Regions from separate parts of the Homo sapiens genome. Here all the other regions are linked to region 1. The links are contacts of gene promoters, found by promoter capture Hi-C in blood cells and fetal thymus (Javierre and others, 2016). All regions are on one chromosome and are shown on one strand. The core of a region is centred on a gene start or on the middle of the fragment in contact, and the rest is flanking DNA. Distances in the headings are between cores, read along the strand shown. Region 1 holds the start of SDK2 (sidekick cell adhesion molecule 2). Region 2 has its middle 120 kb from the start of LINC02074. Region 3 has its middle 140 kb from the start of LINC00469. Region 4 overlaps LOC107985081 (a long non-coding RNA gene).

Region 1 (3,326 bases), core at 361-2,860:
ATGCCAACGCAGTTGCAAAATCTTATTTTTAATAATTTTGTTAGCAGGGAAAGGAGTCCACCGAGGCGAAGGCACCTGAAATTTTCCCAGTGCCCGGGAAATTTTAACAGAAGCCTGTTAACCCCAGCTGAGCTTCGTGGAGTAGGCGCTAGCTCTGGGCCACAGCAGAGGACGCCTCCGGGCTCTCTTGTTTGAATTCCTCCACCAATGTCCGGTTCTTCTACTCTTTACAAGCTGGGCTCCGAAGGAAAAAAGAAGAAACAAAGAACGCACGCTCCTTGGCACCAACTTCACTTTCTCAGGCTTCTGCAGGTCCCAGGCCTCCCGATGTCTCCCCCTCCGCCCTGAGCATTTCCAGACCTTGGAGAGCCTGACTTGGGAAGGGGAAACTGGAATCAATCGGTTGACCGACCCCCTTTTCCCAACCGCCGCCTCCCCACCAATCACTCCATGTCCGGAAGGGGGCTGGGGGCTCCCGACTATAGGAGACTCTGGGAGTCCTATGAGGCCTTTGAGACAGGGGCGCGAGCGAGGCTGGAAGGAAAGGCTGGGCAGAGAGCGGAGGGGCTCGCGCGCATCTCTCCCGGCGCGGCAGAAGGTTGGCACTGCTGCCCCCCTGCGGGTCCCAGAGCCGCTGGGCGCCCGCGGCCGCGCAGTCGGATTGTATTTCTGCGGGGCTCGCTCCCGGGCCTGGCTCGGGGCCGCCGCCGCCGCCGCCGCCCCTCCCGGCGCGCAGGCTGCTCTCCAGTCGCGGCCACGGGGTAGCGCTCGGCCCCCCTCTCCGCGTCTCCGCCTCCGCCGCGCTCGTCCCCGGCTCACGCTGCCCCCGCAGCTCCGGCTCGGCGCAGGCAGGAGCGGCTCTCTGGACGCCGAGCCCGGGAAGCGGAGGGCGGCGGGCTCGGCGAGCGGCAGCGGCGGCCGAGGCGCTGGGGCGGCCGTTGCTCCTCCGGCCCGGGAGGTCGGCGATCGCCGGGCGTCCGAAGGGGCGCCGCGTCCCCGGAGCCGGGGCTGCCCGCCGGGCTCTCCGTGCGTCTTCCCGAGAGCTCCGGCCGGGGCGCGGCGGAGGGCAGAGCCGCCGGTCTCCATCCTCGGGCCGGCAGGAGGCTCTGCGCCCGGGCGCCGGCGACAGCCCGCGTCGCGAAGCCCAGCACCCTCCCCCGCCGCCCCGCGGCTGGCGCGGACATGGGCGCTCAGGGCTGCGCGCCCGGCTCCGGGACCCGCAAAGTTTGCTAGCCGGCTGGGCGCGGAGCCGAGGGCGCGCCCGGCCCCAGCGCCCCCGGAGGAGACCCGGCGTCTCCCGATTCGGCGCGAGGGCGGTGGAGCCCAGAGGGGGTGGTTCGGCCCCGCCAGATGCTGCCTGCAAAGTTAGAGAGAAGAAAACTTCAGCTCCAGGGAGATTCGGACCGCTATGCTCACCGCGTCCCCCGAAACCGGCGCCCCTAAAAGAACCCCCGCACCCGCGTCTGCCACTGCGCTCGGCTCTGGCCGGGTCCCGGGGGCCCGGCGCCTGGAACGGCGGTGACTGCGTCGGCCGGGAGAACCCAACCAGGGGGCGGGGAGGGGGCGGGCAACGTGGCCACGGGAGGAAGTTTCCTGAAGTTGTCCATTTATTCCGGAGCTCGGCCGGCGACCCGGCCGGATCGCAGAGGCCGCCCTGTTTGGGAGAAGTCGGAGTTGGGGTGCTAAGGGAGAGAGGCGCCCTAGTCCGAGAGGGCGGCCTGGCCTCTTTCTCCCTGCTCGCCCCTCGCCTTCCGGGCGCGCTGCCGGGCTCGGACTAGTACAGAAGAGGAGGAAGGGTTGGGGTAGCCAAGCGCTGCCCCTCCCGGGCATATTACACCCCGGGGCACGGAGCCGCGTAGACTGACTGTTTCCTGGGACTAAGCCACGGGGTATCGGACCCCACCAGGATTATAAAACAGGGCGGAGGGAAGGGAGACCCCGAGGACCCCTCTCCAGGCTGGTCACCATGTGGGGGCTTTTGATCTGGACACTGCTAGCTCTGCATCAGATCCGCGCGGCCAGAGCCCAAGGTAAGGAGGGACCCCCACGTGGGGACAGGGAGGGGGCTGGGAGAGTGGGCGGGGGAGGGGCGGCGGGAGCTGGCCGGCCTCACGGTGACCTCCTGGACACCCGGCTTAGCCGTGGCAGAGCCCTCTCCAGGGAGTTTCAAGACACCCCATCTCCCAAGTTTTGGGGCTCTTTTGGGGGTGGGGCAGTCTCTCCGAGACTTGTGGCTTCCGAATGGGGGAAGGTGGGGACGACCTGGGGAGGCAGAGAAGAGCCCAAGGTGAAGTGGGAGGGGCGCTCCCCTCCCCCCGTCTGCTGTGGCTGCCCTGCGCCGGCTTGGGAGGGGAGCGACATTCCGTGCCGGGCTCCACGCTCGGCTACGCTGAGCTTCCCAGACCGAGCTCCTGGTTCCCTGCTCGGTGTCTGCGGGGAAGGGCAGGGCCCCTGCCGGGCAGGCGATGGCCTCCCCGGGGCGAGGGAGTGGGGTGGGCGAGCGCTGGATGCCGGGTTGCTCGCCCGGGGAGAGCAATTGCCCGGCTTGGCCACGTACGGGAGCCCGCCCCTGGCTGCTCGGCCAGCCGCTGGGGCTGGGGGTGCTTCGCTGCGCGGGCCTGGAGCCAAGGTCGCGGGTGCAGCCGCGGACCCACCGGGGGGTGGTGCACAGGGAGGGTCTGAGGCCTCCCCTCCTACCCATCCACCCACACCCAGCATCCCCGCCCCTGCCTCCAGCCTCCGCTGTTCGCTCGATAGTCTGTGCAGCCGCTCGCTGCTGTGACCTGTGGCTGCCGGGAGCAGCCTCGCGGTGGAGAAGGGCTGGTGGCTTTGGGTTTGGGAGTGCTACGAAGGATCCGAGGTGTGATCTGCGCTGCCCGCTTCCTGAGGGTGGATGCCCAGACGTCCCCCTGGTCCCCGGGCAGGTCCCCGAGGTGAAGGGCGGCTGCACCGGCGGTTCCTCGACTTTGGGGTTCGCCGATCCAGACAGTGGTGTCAGCGGTGTCCGAGCGGCGCCTGCTGGGGGCGGAGGGAGACGAAGCCTGGACCGAGCTCCAGGACTCGCAGGGCTAGGCCTTCACTCTCGCAGGCTCAGGAGGGGGCCAGACCCACCCTAGGGGTCCGGACTGTGGGGGCTGCAACCCACTCCCCACGCCGCCTCGTGCGCCAGGCAATCCAGAGAGCCAAGATCAAAGAGATGAAAATAATCAGCTCTCACTCACAGGGCTGAGGGGAGGATTTTACGAGGTAATTTACATAAAAGCACTTCGAAATTTTGTAACGAGCCCTATAAATGTAGGGTAATAAAAGTTATTATTTTTATGATC
Region 2 (3,326 bases), core at 564-3,063, 350 kb before region 1:
TCGCGCCGCTACACTCCAGCCTGGGCGACAGAGCAAGACTCTGTCTAAACAACAACAACAACAACAAAACAACAACAACAACATTTATTTAGCACCTACCATGGGCGAACGTTGCACTGTACACTAAGGCGATGCGGGGAAATCAGTGATACAAAGGCCCTGTGCTCAGAGAGCTTTAACACGCGCGATGCTATTATGTGCACACTCGTCACAGGACAAAGACTCAGATGGCTGAACACCCATTGCAGTGTGCCCACCACTTTGCGTTCACAATTCTCACATCCACCCCCTGCAGGAAGACAAAATTAGCTCCCTTTACAGAAGAGGGAACCAAGGCTCAGTACCCAAGCTTCCCTCATCTAGTGGGTGGTCTCCAGATCTGTTGGGTCCAAAGCCCAAGTCTGTCCCACTGCTGATAAGAGTGCACAGCTTCTGCCTCCGAAAAAGAAAGATGGCGCTGCTGTTGCTCCCTAGACTCAGCTCCGCGGAAGGGGAAAAGGAAGGGTGAGCTGGTTTATTCTGGGGAAATCTCCCCATTCATTCTTAGGGTCCACTCAAGAAAGAAATTTTCTATACTCTCTGGTCCCCAGGGAGCTCTGCTTCACTTCCAGATGAGCAGCTGAGACCAAAGAAACACCAGGAAATGTACTTATTTCATTCCACCTTGAATTACTCCCCGGCACGTCTGGCTTATAAAATCCTTGGCTGCAGGGATAGTCTCTCAGTCACCCTTAGATCTCCCAAACACGCCAGGTGCGGTGGCTCATCCCAGCACTTTGGGAGGCTGAGGCGGGCGGATCACCTGAGGTCAGGAGTTTGAGACCAGCCTGGCCAACATGACGAAACCCCGTCTCTACTAAAAATATAAAAATTAGCCAGGCGTGGTGGCGCATACCTATAATCCCAGCTACTAGGGAGGCTGAGGCAGGAGAATCACTTGAACCCAGGAGGCAGAGGTTGTAGTGAGCTGAGATCGTGCCACTGTACTCCAGTCTGGGCTACAGAGCGAGACTCCATCTAAAAAAAGAAAAAAATCCTAAACAAATATTAAATACTTACTGTATGCCAGGCCTTATGCTAGCTGTGGGACACAGTGCTTTGTATATGGTAAGTGTTCACAGAATGCTTATTATGTAAATGAGTCTCTGCTGATTAAGTTCACATGAATGCCAGACTTTTTCTAGGAGCTTCCAGGAGATACTGGAGTCCTTGAAAAAAGAGGGAGGACACGGATATTCAGGGAATCTGTATTTCTCTCTTCACCTATTCCATCCTGCATCTCTGCTCTGAAAGGGATGTTCTCTCCATCGCTGGGTGGGGCCAGCAAGTTCATTCTCGGAGTTGCTGCTGCTTCCAAAGGCCATTTCTGAAAAGCCACAAAGGAGGTGAGGTTTCTCCTCCAGTCTCTTTCTCTTGATTTTTTAGCCTGTCCTGGAATCTCACTTTCACTGTAACCTCATTACCATTTTCAGTCCTCATGGACTCTTATTTTTTTTTATTTTTATTATTATTTTTTTTGAGATGGAGTCTCGCTCTGTCGCCCAGGCTGGAGTGCAGTGGCACAATCTCAGCTCACTGCAAGCTCCGCCTCCTGGGGTCATGCCATTCTCCTGCCTCAGCCTCCTGAGTAGCTGGGACTACAGGTGACTGCTGCTATGCCCAGCTAATTTGCTGTATTTTTAGTAGAGACGGGGTTTCACCGTGTTAGCCAGGATGGTCTCGATCTCCTGACCTCATGATACACCCACCTCGGCCTCCCAAAATTCTGGGATTACAGGCGTGAGCCACCGCACCCGGCCTATGGACTATTTTTAAGAGTCAAAAATCAAATGATCCCAAATAACAAAGACTTCAAGTATTACTAGGAGAGGATCCACCATTTCCCTTCATGCTCTGGCAATAGAGGAGGCATGGTGTGTCCAGAGAGAAGTCAGGCTTCCTTCCCCTCCAGCCTCTGAGAGCCTCCTTCCATGCTGGGTCTATTGGTAAAGTCTTCAGGCTGGCTGTCCCTCCTGAACCCTCTAGGTCATGCATGGACACTTGGTTGCTGAACATTTTGTCAAAACAGTACTCAGTGTCAGGGGAACCCAAAGGAAAGAAAAATGGCTGCCGGAGCCAGGTGACCCAGCTTGCAGCCGACGGTTTGCTCTCTGAAGCTCTTGGGCCCTCTTCCATCTTCCTCCCAGCATGATCCAGGTAGTGACATCACCTTGGCATCTGCCATCAGGAGTCCAAACCTGCCATCAGGAGTCCAAACCAGGGAAGGTCCAAGAGGTGAAGGCCAGAGGCTCATCTCTGTATTCCAACGTCCAGTCTGAGGTCACACTGCCACCTTGGACAATTGACAATGGGTGGCCGTGGTACTCCATGCAGAGAGGTGGGCTTCATACCTGTGGATCCACCAGGACAGCATCTCAGAACACCCTCAAGTCAACCCAACATCCATCCAAGAGATGGCCACAAATGCTAAGTGGCCATTTTGTAACTATGACTTGTCTCAAGAGTCTGGGGTGGTGGACAGAGCTCCAAAGAGAAAACACCTCCTTAACTTTCAAAGACGGTACCCTGCCACCTCTGTCCCCAGGATGTCTCTGTCTCCTCCTCTTTTCAGCTCACACAATTGTCAAAGTGCAGCTTGCTCCCCAGACACTGTCCTACTACTTTACAGGCAAACCCTGCCTTGCCGAACCTGAGAAGGGGGCAAAGTGTTTGCGGGTCCCAAGGTTACTCCCCAAAGGCTCTTAAGAACATTAAGAGAGTGTGTGAAATCATGAGCACGAAATTTTCACAGCTGCACCCACACCCTGTGTTCTCATCCCTCCCGGGTTCCATCCACTTATTTTTCTTGACCTCAGTGGGGTAGACTGAGTCACCCCATACTAGTCTTTGGGATTCATGACAATCTGCACCTGTGGATCTGGAAGGGTCTAAGTGCATGTTACAAGCAGGCAAGAAAGACCAAAGAAGAGAAGAGAATGCTGGGTCCCTCATTCTCAGCACTCCTGACACCTGGGGCCCACCCATTCTCTGTGGTGGGGGCAGGGGGCAACCTGTGAACGGTAGGATGCTGCATCCCAGAGCAGCATCCCTGGCCTGTACCCACCAGATGCCAGTAGCATCCACCCCCCAGTTGTGACAACCAAAAATGTCTCCAGACATTGCCAAATGTCGTCTGGGGGACAATGTCACCCCTGGTTGAGAACTGATGAAAAGAAGAACAAAAATGCTTAGAGGGCTTCATTTATTTAGAATTCATGACTGTGCCACGGAAGCTTCCTGCTGGCCCCCAGCCCTTGACCTTGGGCTGTTCCTTTTACATCGGTCTC
Region 3 (3,326 bases), core at 444-2,943, 320 kb before region 1:
AAGATGATATGCCTTAATGTTAATAGTCTTCAGCAACACAAACTGAGTGACTATTTCAGTTTACTATAAAAAATAAAAACACAAGGTGGGAGCTACTGCCTTCTGGTAGTAGTGTAGTAATTTGGTCACAGTAAGTCTTCCACAGATGACAATTATAAACTCTGAGCAAAACACAAAACAGCACAGAGGAATACCCAAAAGTAGGCAGAAACCAGAGGTGAGTCTGCCCTTGTGAGACCGCATGAATGATATTTGTGAGTTGGAAGCGTTTTGCCTGGAACTCCCAAATCTGTGCATAAATTGAGGTGGTAGAAAGCTACAACTGTATTGGCTTGAGGTATCAGAGGACAGCATTCCGGACAGGAAGAAAGAAAGTTGGCCGGGTGCAGTAGCTTACTCCTGTAATCCCAGCACTTTAGGAGGCCAAGGTGGATGGATCACCTGAGGTCAGGAGTTCAAGACCAGCCTGGCCAACATGGTGAAACCCCATCACTACTAAAAATACAAAAATTAGCCAGGCATGGTGGTGGGCGCCTGTAATCCCAGCTACTTGGGAGGCTGAGGCACAGAATCGCTTGAACCCAGGAGGCGCAGAAGGTTGCAGTGAGCTGAGATCATGCCACTGCACTCCAGCCTGGGTGACAGAGCAAGACTCTGTGTCAAAAAAAAAAAAAAAAAAAGTTAAGAAGGAAATACTTGAAGGAAGTGTGCCTCAAAGGAGGAGAGCCCAAAATACATATGAGATTCACCCAAATTCTTGGCACATCTAAGATATGTATATTGAGAAGAGACTTGACAATTTTTTGGGTGGATTTGATAATGATATTGGTCTAATAATAATGATAAGGATCAGGAAAAAAAAAAGCAACTGGAAGTGGAAGAAACTGGTGGAGATTTTAGTTGCTACTGGTCAAGGGGGAGATGATTTTTGGAGATTGAGATACTCAATTGGCTTGCATGACTGAATAAATTGACAGAAAAACAAAACAGACTTCAGAGTCTTTACAGTGTATTTAAAAAAAATGTTTAGTATCCAATCAGAAATCACTAGACACATAAATAGGAAAATGTTGCCTCTACCAAAAAAAAAAAATCCCATCAGTAGAAATCAACCCCAGGATGATCCAAATGTTGCAATTAGTAGATAAGGAATTGAAAACAGCTATTATAAATATGCTCAAAGACTTAAAATATATACATATGGAAAATACATACAAAATGAGAAATCACAGTAAAGAAATAGAAATTATCATAGAGAGCCAAATGGAAATTCTAGAGTAATGCTGTTCAAAGAACTTTTGCAGCAATGGAACTGTTCTATATCAGCACTGTCTAACACAATAGTCACTAGCCTCATGTGGCTCTTGAGCACCTGAAATGTAGCTGCTGTGAATGAACCAAAAATTAATTAGAATTTTAAAAGGCACACAGTGATTACATTATTGGGCAGTACAGTTTTACACTTAAAATGTATATAACTGAAATAAAAGAATCCCTTGAATCATTCAGTAGTAGATTGGAAATGGAAGAAGAAAGAGTCAGTGACCTTGAAGGTAGGTCAATAGAAAGTATCCAGTGGAAAAATACAGAGAAAGAAAGTAATAGAAATGCACAGAACCTCATAAATATGTGGAAAATATCAAGCTAAAATATGTGTAATTGGAGTACTAGAAGGAGAGGGGACAGAAAATCAGGCAGAAAAATATTTGTAGAAATAATGACTGAAAATCCCCAAAATCTAGTGATGAATTTATAGATCCAAAAAGCTCAATGAATCCCAAGTAGAATAAATACAAAGTGGACCACATCTAGGCCCGTCATAATCAAATAGCTAAAATCTGAAGACAAAGGAACAACTCTTGAAAACAGAGAAAAACACCACCACATTCAATTACAAGATACTAATGGTGCCTGACATCTCATCAGAGACAAAGGAGGTTGAAGATAGGGGAACAATAACTTTAAAGTGCTGAAAGGAAAAGAAAAGAACCTACTACCCAGAATTCTACACCCAGCTAAATTGTCTCTCAAAAAATAAAAACAAAATAATCTGCTCAGGCTACCATAACAAAATACTGCAGACTGGGCAACTTAACCAACAGAAATTTATTTTCTAACAGTTCTGGAGGGTGGAAGTCTGAGGTCAGGGTGCCAGCATGGTGGGGTTCTGGTGAGGGCTTTCCTCCTGGCTTTCAGGTGGTCATCTTCTCATTGTGTTCTCACATGGCCTTGTCTAGGTTTGTGCTCATGGAGAGAGAGAATGAACTCTCTTCCTCTTCTTTTAAGCCACCAATCCTATCAGATTAGGACCCTACTCTTATGACCTCATTTAACCTTAATTACCTCCTATATCTCAGCCCTATCTCAAAATACAATCACATTGAGAGTTAAGGTTTCAACATGAGAAGTTTTAGGGAACACAGTTCAGTCCATAGCAGAAATACATTTTTTTTTTTTTTTTTTTTTTTAGTTGGAGTCTCACTCTGTTGCTCAGGCTGAAGTGCAGCGGCATAATCTCAGCTCACTGGAATCTCTGCCTCCCAGGATCAAGTGATCCTCCCACCTCAGCCTCCCAAGTAGCTGAGACTACAGGTGTGCATCACCATGGCTGGCTAACTTTTGTATTTTTAGTAGAGACGGGGTTTCATCATGTTGGCCAGGCTGGTCTCAAACTCCTGACCTCAGCTGATCTGCCTGCCTCAGCCTCCCAAAGTGCTGGGATTACAGGCATGAGCCACTGCTCCTAGCCTCATAGCAGAAATAAATTTATCAAAAGGTCTGCAAGGTCTGTATACATAAAACTACAAAATACTATTGAGACAAATGACAGGTTCTGTAATAATTTCCATAATGTATTTTTGTATTTCTATAATAATTATCTCTGTAATAAATGGAGAGACATACCATGTTCAAGAATTAGATGACTCAATATTGTTAAGATGTAAATTCTCCCCAATTATATTTCAATTCAATCCCAATCAAAACTCCTCCAGACTTTTATAAAATAGAAATTGATAATATGCTTTTAAAATTCATAAGGAAAAACAGAAGACCTAGAATAACCAACCAGTCTTGAAAAAGAAGATCAATGCTAGGAAACTTATACTTTCTAAACTTAAGACTCACTGTAAAGTAATTAAAACAGTATAATAGTAGACAAACTGGTCAATAAAAAAGAATAGGCCAGAAAGAGATTTACATGATCAATTGATTTTTGACAGTGGGACTAAAACATTTACATGGATAAAGAAAAGTCTTTTAACAAGCGCTGTTAGAACAACTTGGTGTCTACATGGGAGAATAAAAGAGAATTTCAACCTTTATCT
Region 4 (3,326 bases), core at 321-2,820, 280 kb before region 1:
ATGGGAGAGGTACAGCTCTTCCTTTCACTTGAACACTTGGATTATTAATTGCCCTAACACCTAGGGTTACTAATTGACCTAATTTCAATATTTTTGTGTCTCAGGGAATAAGGGAACCCGAGGAGAAGGAGAGAGATGAGGGACCAGCTCCTCGGTGGAGGACGCAGAATACACACATTTATTGATGAGGTTTGCCATCTTTTATGGGCACAGTTTGTGGCACCACAAAACAATTACAATGGTGACTTTGAAGATTATTGATCACAGATCACCATAACAGATATAATGATGAAAAGGTTTGAAATATTGTGAAAATTATCAGAATATAACAACAAGACACAAAGTGGGCACATGCTGTTGGAAAAATGATGCTGATAGACTCGCTTGACACGGGGTTGCCAGAAACCTTTAATTTTTTTTTTTAAATGCAATATTTGTGAAGCACACTAAAATTAGGTGTGCCTGGGTATTATTTAGCTCTGCCTGAGTTTTGAACTTTATATAATGGAGTCATACTGTATATTTTCTTCTGTGCCTTGCTTCTTTTGCTCAAGAATATATTTGTTGGATTCATCTATTTTTAATGTGAGTGTTTGTGGTTCATTCATTCTCACTTCTAAATAATACTCCAGTGTATGAATATGCTGCAATTTATTTGCCCAGCCTACTGCTGGTGGAAATTTGGGGTTTGAGCTATTATGAATATTGCTGTGAATATGGATTTATGAAACTCAAGGTTTGCTACTCCAAGTGTAGCCCTCAGAACAGTGGCAGATTTTCAGGGTCCTATCCCAGATCTACTGAATTAGAATTTGCATATTAGCAAAATTGTATGCATGCTAGAGTTTGATAAGCACTGCTCTATGTACCTAGGTTTACACTGAGAAGTAGAGTTGTTGATCCTAAGGTAACCATGCATTAAATCTTACAATGAACAGGCAAACTGTTTTCCAAAATGGTTATGCCCATTCCCACTCTACCCTAGTGAAGGACCAGAGTTTCTGTTGGCCCACATTTCATCATCTCTTGGTATTGACAAACTTTTACATTTTACCAACCTGGTAAGTATGAGATGGTATCTCTGTAGGATTTTGCTTTTCATTTTCCTTATTACAGACATGTCCCAAAGGATACCACTGTGATCTAAGCAGGCCACGCTTGGAGTAGCAGCCGGGAGCCACAGCTTTTCATATGGTGAAGGGCCATTTTGCTTTCTTTTCTAGCAAATGCCTATTTATGTTTTTGCTCATTTTTCTGTTGGGTTTATTTCTAATGGGTTCATGAATTTTTTTTTTTTTTTTTTTTTTTTGAGACAGGGTCTCACTATGTCATCTAGGCTGGAGTACAGTGACGTGATCACTGCTCACTGCAGCCTTGACATCCTGGGGCCAAGCAATCCTCCCTCCTCAGCCTCCTGAGTAGCTGGGACTACAGGCATGTGCCACAAAGCCCGGCTAATTTTTTTATTTTTTGTAAAACAGGGTCTCACTATGTTTCCCAGACTGGTCTCGAACTACTGGGCTCAAGCAATCCTCCCACCTTAGCCTCCTGAAGTGCTGGGATTACAGGTATGAGCCACTCCACCCAGCCCATAAAAGATTTTTTGTTCATGACTTTTACATATTTGTTCATGTGGCAGAAACCACACAATGTGCTTAGCCCACCATTTCCTTGTCCTGGACATAAAGAAGAGCAAATCTGCCAGCCTCCTTTGCAGTTAGATTGGGACCATGTGACTGAGTTCCTACTAAGGGAATGATAATTGGATTAGTTTGCCAGGGCTTCCCTAACAAAATACCACAGACAGAATAGCTTAAACAATAGGTGTTAATTTTCTCACAGTTCTGGAAGCTGGAAGTCCAGGATCAGAGGGTCAGCAGATTTGGTTTCTTCTGAGGCTCCTCTCCTTGGCTGTCAGATGACCGACCTCTTGCTGTGTCTTCATATGGTCTTTCCTCTATGCATGAACAGCTGTGTCCTAATCTCTTCTTATAAGGACACCCGCCATATCGGATTAGCACCCACCCCTATGAACTTATTTTAATTACCACTTCTTTATGTCCAGGAAAAGGAAGTGGTGGGCTAAGCACATTGTGCGGTTTCTGCCACATGAACAGAGATGTAAAAGTCACAAATAAAAAATATTTTATGGGCTGGGTGGGGTGGCTCGTGCTTGTAATCCCAGCACTTCAGGAGGCTGAGGTGGGAGGACTGCTTGAGCCCAGTAGTTTGACACCAGTCTGGGAAACATAGTGAGACCCTGTTAAAAGTGGTAATTAAATAATTTAAAACATCATGAGACCCTATCTCCAAATTCAGTCACATTCTGAGGTACTCGGGGTTAGGACTTCAATAATTGAATTTTGGAGGACACAAGTCAATCCTCAACAATGGTGTAGTCACTTCTCTGCATGGACCTTAAAATCATCCCACGATTTTCCAGCCTGCACTTCCCCTTTTGTGGAAACTTTGGAAGCCGCATGTTCTAGGCGGTATAGCCATAAAAGAGAAGCAGCCTGGGTTCCTGTGTTACTGCCTGGAGCGGAGCTGCCTGTCCTGCAACAGGCTGTGACATGGAAGAGAACCAGACCTCCATAGTGCAAGACCACTGACATTTTGAAATTTGTTACTGCAAAATGATCAATTCTATCCTTACTAAGCAGTTTTTGCATGAGATTAGACTGATTTTTCTTGCCCATATCATCCTTGTCAAGTTTTGGAATTAAGATTTTGCTAATCTTTTAAACTGATGGGGGCAGGTTTCTTCTTTTTCTATGACCTGGAAAAGTAGTTCCTAAAACATTTTGTAGAAATTGCTGATAAATCATTTGGACCTAGTTTTTTTTTTTTTCTGGAAGATTTTTATCTAATAATTCAATTTCTTTAAAGGTCATTAGACTCTCCAGGTTTTCTACTGCTTCTTTGATAAATTGTATTTTTCTAGAATTTATCCACTTTTATCTAAGTTTTAAAATTTATCATAAAGTTTTTCTTAACCTCGTCTCATCTGTTTAATAATTGCAGCTTTTGCAGTAATAAGCCCTTTTTAATTCTTAATATTGTTCCTAATATTGTTTATTTTTTCATTCTTTCTCTCTCCACTCCCCATCCTGTTTATTTTCTTCTGAGTAATCTTGCTAGCTAAGGAATGGTCATTTTAAAAGCTTTTTTTTTTTTTTTCCAAAGAACCAATTTTTGGTTTTGACATTTCTTTTTATTGAACTTTATTTTTGCCTTTAGTTTTGTTCTTAGCTTGAATATTTTCTTCTTTCTGTTTTTATTGGGTTTATTCTGCTATTCTTTTGACTTTTTAAATGGAATGCTCA

Evidence for each region. Contacts are between HindIII fragments. The CHiCAGO score rates a contact against its expected background, and 5 or more counts as called.
Region 2: a fragment that was not itself captured here is called in contact with the fragment with the promoter of SDK2 in region 1 in 6 of 17 cell types (naive CD4 T cells, monocytes, naive CD8 T cells and 3 more); the score reaches 7.6 in naive CD4 T cells.
Region 3: a fragment that was not itself captured here is called in contact with the fragment with the promoter of SDK2 in region 1 in 6 of 17 cell types (M2 macrophages, M1 macrophages, naive CD4 T cells and 3 more); the score reaches 7.0 in M2 macrophages.
Region 4: a fragment that was not itself captured here is called in contact with the fragment with the promoter of SDK2 in region 1 in 1 of 17 cell types (fetal thymus); the score reaches 5.1 in fetal thymus.

The regions. Positions count from the first base shown.
Region 1 is chr17:73,642,729-73,646,054 of GRCh38, reverse strand. It overlaps SDK2 (sidekick cell adhesion molecule 2), which reads left to right and starts at 1,610. Exons shown (of 45, transcript NM_001144952.2): 1 at 1,610-2,030. The coding sequence starts at 1,967. It overlaps LOC124904054 (a long non-coding RNA gene), which reads right to left and starts at 581. Exons shown (of 2, transcript XR_007065893.1): 1 at 361-581; 2 at 1-234. The HindIII fragment of the contact is 5,171 bases long and covers 1-3,326 here.
Region 2 is chr17:73,992,956-73,996,281 of GRCh38, reverse strand. No RefSeq gene overlaps it. Among named protein-coding and RNA genes, the nearest start is that of LINC02074, 120 kb to the left of the region's middle. The HindIII fragment of the contact is 2,923 bases long and covers 352-3,274 here.
Region 3 is chr17:73,963,015-73,966,340 of GRCh38, reverse strand. No RefSeq gene overlaps it. Among named protein-coding and RNA genes, the nearest start is that of LINC00469, 140 kb to the right of the region's middle. The HindIII fragment of the contact is 3,404 bases long and covers 1-3,326 here.
Region 4 is chr17:73,923,435-73,926,760 of GRCh38, reverse strand. The region is part of intron 2 of LOC107985081 (a long non-coding RNA gene); the gene reads right to left. It overlaps LOC105371888 (a long non-coding RNA gene), which reads left to right. Exons shown (of 6, transcript XR_934962.2): 6 at 105-1,205. Among named protein-coding and RNA genes, the nearest start is that of LINC00469, 97 kb to the right of the region's middle. The HindIII fragment of the contact is 3,192 bases long and covers 1-3,166 here.